2 separate regions of the Homo sapiens genome follow, and region 2 is linked to region 1. Evidence: promoter capture Hi-C in 16 types of primary human blood cells and fetal thymus (Javierre and others, 2016). All regions are on one chromosome and are shown on one strand. The core of a region is centred on a gene start or on the middle of the fragment in contact, and the rest is flanking DNA. Distances in the headings are between cores, read along the strand shown. Region 1 holds the start of CMSS1 (cms1 ribosomal small subunit homolog). Region 2 has its middle 200 kb from the start of LINC00973.

Region 1 (2,800 bases), core at 267-2,766:
ATTCGCCTACCTCAGACTCTCAAGTAGCTGGAATTACAGGCGCCTGCCACCATGCCCGGCTAATTTTTGTATTTTTAGTAGAGATGGGTTTCGCCATTTTGGCCAGGCTGGTCTGGAATTCTTGACCTCAGGTGATTCACCCACCTCGGCCTCCCAAAGCGTTGGGATTACAGGCTTGAGCCACCGCGCCCGGCCCATACTTCTTAATTTTGTGATTTATTGCCTGAAAAACGGTCTCGCTGTGGTGTTTTTTTTGTATTTCCCAGATTAATAATCAGACTGAATTCTTTTCATGTTTATTAGCCATAGCAACTCCTCTTCCACACTGGCATTTCTTATCTTTTTCAAAAATCTATTAATCACGAAAATCTCGTCATCTACATTTCTTCACAAAAGCCATATTACTTTTGATCTTTATAGATTATTTTACATTTGCCATATTTATACATAATATCTTCCCTTTTGGGGCATTTAGAGTGTGCGGACAAAGTCTAGGCAGTAATGCATTTATAAAACATCTATGAGTTGGGTGCACACGGGGTAATTTTCCACATATGGCTAATCCTAGCCTCATCAGATTAAGTTTCCCTGTCTTGTCATTTCCGAGGATGTATCCTATTAGAAGTCTAGCCCTTTATTCCTACAAATTGAATTTCCACTACTGTAGGCTAACATCTGAATGGACTCATCTTACTATTCCATGCATAGTACCAGGCACGTTGCGTGCTTTTACTACATTTTGTATAATTTTTACGTCTGTGTTTGATGTCCTGAAAAATACCGTCCACAATTACTTCACAGCTAGCCCCAGCACTTGGCGCCCAGCGGGTTTTCCTAGTCCCTCCCTGCCAAATCACGTTGGGACTGAGACAAGAGGCACTGCGGGTCTCTTACCTATAGTTACGAAGCAATGGACTCCCTTATTACTTCGTTTCCCAAATAGGGGGTGGGACACACAACCGAGGGAGTATGAGGAAAACAACTTGCGGGTCTTCGAGCCACTTGCGTCTTTCTGTGGGCGAGCCTTTCCAGGCCAATTACATTTTCTTTACTCATATTGCATAAATAGCAGAACTACATTTACCACAAAGGCCCGACATTCATGGTCATGGATCCTTGCGCATGTTTTCTAAGAGCAAACTGTACAAACACATAAACTCTGAAACACTGACGCACAAGCGAAAACACACGCACATGTTTGGGTCTTCTCCCGCTGCGCAAGTTCTTTGAAACTGAGCGGAGAAAAATCGTCTTCACATGGTGTCTCACACTTTCGACACAATCTTATCGGGAAACGTAACACGTAAACAAAATTTTTTAAAATGCATTATCAAAAACGATGACAATCCCTTTCGTCTTATGTTCCTTTTTGTCTTTAAGCTTTGGGGGGATTTATGTTGCGTTTCCAAACTGCTTCTGCCTGTCGGCGCCTGTGTGGAAACTGCGACGAGTCTGGGAGCGGCTGCCGGAGAGGCGGGGCAGAGGTGTGACGTCATCGCCGCGGGGCGGAGGCGACAGTGTCTAGCGGGAGCTCCGCGTGTAGCTACGCCGGCCGCCTGGCTTTGAGACAACGTGATTCTCCGCAGCTGGTCGCCTACCCGTGATGTTCTGCCCACGTCGAGACCTGAGCTGAAATGGCAGACGATCTCGGAGACGAGTGGTGGGAGAACCAGCCGACTGGAGCAGGCAGCAGCCCAGGTACCCACTCTGTGCCCGCGCTCCTACGGGGCCTCTCCCGGAGCCCTTCCGTGCGCCTCAGCCCTGGTCGCTTCTGGCGATCGCGGTGTTTGCCCAGCAGGGGTGTGCACCGCCTTGGGAGCGCGCAAGCATCTCGGGGAAAATGGTGCAAGAGATTCTTTAACACGTGAAACAGACAGCTGTGACATTAACTCAGATCTGTCTGCCAGCCAGGAAGGATCCTTTCCACAAGCTTTCTCTTTTCCTTATTTCTTGAGAATGGATAAGACAGTTTTTGTGAAGAGAGGCAACTTTGTATGATGGTTAAGGGTGACCCATGAACTGCTTTCAATTCAGACTGAGGTCAGAAGCAGGGGTTGCTGCTTCAGACTCCCTCCATTCAAATCACGACTCCAGTATTCTGATACTGTTTAGCCTCCTTTTCCTCATCTGTAAAATAATGATAACAATAATGTCCATTTCGTAAAGTTGTGAAGATTAAGTGAAGTTAGTACAGTAATGCACTTTAGCATAGTGCTTGACATATAATGTGTGGTAAATATAAGTTACTGTATTTCTTGTGGTCATCATCATTATCATGGAATTTGGAATAGTAGAACTGGAAGGAGGCTTAAATAGAGATCATCCTTTGAACTCACTTATTTTACAGATGAGAAACATAACCTAAAGATGTCAAGTAACTTGACAAGTTCACAAAGCTAGCTCCTTTCAGAAACAATACTAGAATTCAGTTAACACAATTTGAATAGTTTCTACTATGCTCTGCTGTGTTTACCAACTCCTGATGCAGTGGGCATTTCATCCCCAAGTAGAGTAGCGTTAAGTGACCCCCCATGTCAGGCTAGCCTTGAACTTTTTAAGTTCCATCACACCTACCATGCAATTATTGGTTGGTTGGTTTTTATCACTCCTCAAGGTCTGCCTCTTTTCTCTACAAGAGAAGACAGGGCCAAAGTCAGATTCATACTTCTGTCATCCACAGGGCCCTGCACATGTTAGACACTTGATACCTATTTGCTGCAAACAATCTTGAAATACTAGTTGTGAAATATCCATTAAAAATAACCAACTTCATTTGTTGCATTGTTTCCGGAAGGTCAAG
Region 2 (3,138 bases), core at 4-2,503, 700 kb before region 1:
CTACATTTCTGGGTTGGAGTCTACTGGCCCGTGCAAGCTAATCTGAAGATGATTAGCAACTCATTTGACAAGGTAGGTTAGAACTGAAATGAATGAGTTAACTATTGTCCCTTAGCCTTGTTTATATCCTCATCATATCCCATCAGTATTATTATAATCATCCTCTACCCAGTCTCCCTGATCCCAGTCTACCTGCATAATCATCTTCTTAAAATGTAAATCTAATAATATTGCTCCTTAACATCACTGCGTAGAAAATCTACAATGTGTTTTATCACCATAGAGTAAATCCCCAAAATCTAAATATGGTATAATAAGGCAATTGCCACCAGTTACTTTTCCAGCTTCTTTGTTAGGTACCTCTCCCACCCCCATCATCTTTCGCTAATTACAGAAACATTCCCACTCTCCAATGAACATTCCTTACTCTTCCATGCCTCCATTCCTTGGCTTTTACTGTTTTCTATGTCGAGAACACTCAACCTCCAAATTGCTGAAATTCCATGCATCCTTCAAGAATAGGTTCAAATCCTACTTTTGAGTAGGTTTTCCCAAACTTTCAGGCTAAGCTTTATTTGAGAACTTTGTTCACTTTTTCTTTCTGATCATTATAGAACACTAAAAATGTGAATTACCTATTCATGTTTGTCTCCTTCATAAAACCATGAGCTCATTAGAGCCAAGGGATCAATCTGATTTGTCTTGTTATTCTCAGTTCTTAGTACTCAGCATGGTATCCAAGACATAGTACATTCTCAAATATTTTTGTTGAATGAATAAATGAATATATATTGTATTATATAGGATTAGGTTTGAATCTATAGAAACTCTATGACTCAGCAAGATAGAAGAATTTTTCTTTTTCCTCATATAAAGGATATTTAGAGACAGGCAATCTAAGGCTGTATATTGGCTCAATGTTGGCATCAGTGTCACAAGAGAAACTCTGCTACCCATCTTCTGTAGACTGAATTATGTGCTCAGAGTCCTAACCCCCCGATGTGACTATATCTGGAGATAGAAACTTTGTGGAGGCAGTTAAATTAGGTCATAAGGGTGAGGTCATGCCATGAACTAAATGTCTGTCCCCACTACCCCATTTGTATGTTGAAAGTCTAATTCTTAATGTGATAATATTTAGAGACAGGACCTTTGGGAGGTAATTAGTTATGAGAGTAGAACCCTATGTGAATGGGTTTAATGCCTTTATACAAAGAGACAGGAAAGAGTTTGCTTCCCCTACTCTCGTTAGGAAACCAGGAAGAGGGCCCTAAACAGACATTGGATCTGCCAGTATCTTGCTCCTGAACTTCCAGCCTCCAGAACTGTGAGAAATAATTTTATGTTGTTTAAACCATCTACTCTATGGTATCTTGTTATAATAGCTCAAACTGACCAAGATAGGCCCTGATATGCTAAGATTAGTTTATTGTTTTTATCAGAAGAGAGGCATCAGAAAACCCTCTCTTACCCATCTCTGCCCTGAATTCTTGAGTTCACAAAGAAAAAGACATGGGCAAACAGTGTGGTAGCAGATGCCTACAAGCCAGGAAGAGATGCCTCACCAGAAACCAACCATGCTGACACCTGATCTCAGACTTTGAGCCTCCAGGACTGTGAGAAAATAAATATCTGTTGTTTAAGCCACCCTGTCTGTGGCATTTTATTAAGGCAGCCTGAGCTAAAACATTAGTTTTAACTTCAAGATCTCCTTCTGGTCTAAAATGGCTGCTGGAGTATCGGTGATTACATCTGAGTTTTGGGCAATAGGAAGGAAGAAGGAGGAGAAGGAAAAAGGGTGAGAAGTTCCCTCTCTTAACTGAGTCAGTGCTCCTTCAAAATTTCTCAGATATTCACTTAAGTACCTTGTTCACCCCTGGCTTCAAGGAAACCTGGAAAATGTACTGTGTAAGCTGGATACATTGCCAGGCATACAATCAAGCTTCTGTTTGTGAGGAAGGTGGGGAAAAAGGCTATTAGGTCAGCACTTAGTAGTTCTGGTCAGAAATGTCTTCATGACCCCCCACCCCCCTACCCCCCACAGTTGTGGCTTTTGGATGGAAAGTCTGTGTCCTGGCTCTATAGAGTGGTCCCCTACACTGCACTGAATTTGTAAAAAGGGTGTCATTTGGGTAACATAGGCAAAGATCTAGACAAAAATGTTGAAGTACAGGATGTTTTGAATGCTACTATCATTTGATTAAAGAGTTGGATAGTACAATATTTTATAACATTCCTGGAAAGAGTTTTGAGGGGATGTTCATGTTCTCTTTTTCTCCCGGCAAGGAAAATCTGAATTAAATATTCCTATAAAATTGAGAGCCTATTCTGGACCTATCACTTCAGAAGAGTTGGTTATGCTACACTAATCAGATTTAATCCACCTTACTTGGAGATCAGCGTTCTATAGCCCAATTTGATTTACTTAATCAAATTGGAGGGGAGAAGGAATGAATATTAGGAGAGGACCACACTGGTTCTGCAGTTTCAGGGGAAATCAATCTTAAGAACTGAAGAGGTGGAGGATGGACATCTGCACTCCAATATTCTCCTGTAGTAGTGTCTTGGGTTTGAGCCCACAAAACTGTGACCAAACAATTGGGAGATTCTTGAAATGCTGTCACTATCCTGAAATTTCTAATTAACCACAAATATTCTGAGTGCTTTCTATGTTTAAACTGGCATGGCTAACCATCACTTTTTAGGGTGATCTGAATGGGTTTGAATTGAGTAACTCATTTTCCTGGTATTCCCAGCTGGCTTACTGTCATTTCATTATGCTTGTAGCAATACCACAGTTATTTAATAAATTCAATTCCACATGTTGCCCAATTGAATTTCGGGGTCTCATAATGGTCCTATGACTAGCTTCTGCTGTTTTTTACATTGCCATCTGAATGGGAAAAGGAAATAATATCCATCAATGCCTGTTTTGTATCATATCTAGGTTGAAGACCCTTCTGCCTGTCACATTGACTGATATTTCCTCACTAGAAACCTTATTTTATAGAATTGGCATCTTCTTTTAGAATGTGATTACCTGGAGATTAAAGAACGTTGCCCAAAGTAATCCAAAGTGTTAGTGGTTGTGATCATTAATTTTATGTGTCAACTTGACTGCTCTAAGAGATACCCAGA

What was found. The method cuts DNA at HindIII sites, captures the fragments that hold promoters and counts their contacts. A CHiCAGO score of 5 or more calls a contact.
Region 2: a fragment that was not itself captured here is called in contact with the fragment with the promoter of CMSS1 in region 1 in 1 of 17 cell types (endothelial precursors); the score reaches 6.0 in endothelial precursors.

The regions. Positions count from the first base shown.
Region 1 is chr3:99,816,346-99,819,145 of GRCh38, forward strand. CMSS1 (cms1 ribosomal small subunit homolog) reads left to right here and starts at 1,517. Exons shown (of 10, transcript NM_032359.4): 1 at 1,517-1,698. The coding sequence starts at 1,635. HP09053 (a long non-coding RNA gene) reads right to left here. Exons shown (of 3, transcript NR_110821.1): 2 at 2,575-2,629; 3 at 287-2,127. LOC105374010 (a long non-coding RNA gene) reads left to right here and starts at 1,517. Exons shown (of 5, transcript NR_189163.1): 1 at 1,517-1,698. RefSeq lists a silencer at 1,198-1,952 and enhancers at 1,368-2,242, 1,474-1,783. The HindIII fragment of the contact is 550 bases long and covers 1,379-1,928 here.
Region 2 is chr3:99,115,895-99,119,032 of GRCh38, forward strand. No RefSeq gene overlaps it. Among named protein-coding and RNA genes, the nearest start is that of LINC00973, 200 kb to the left of the region's middle. The HindIII fragment of the contact is 1,373 bases long and covers 568-1,940 here.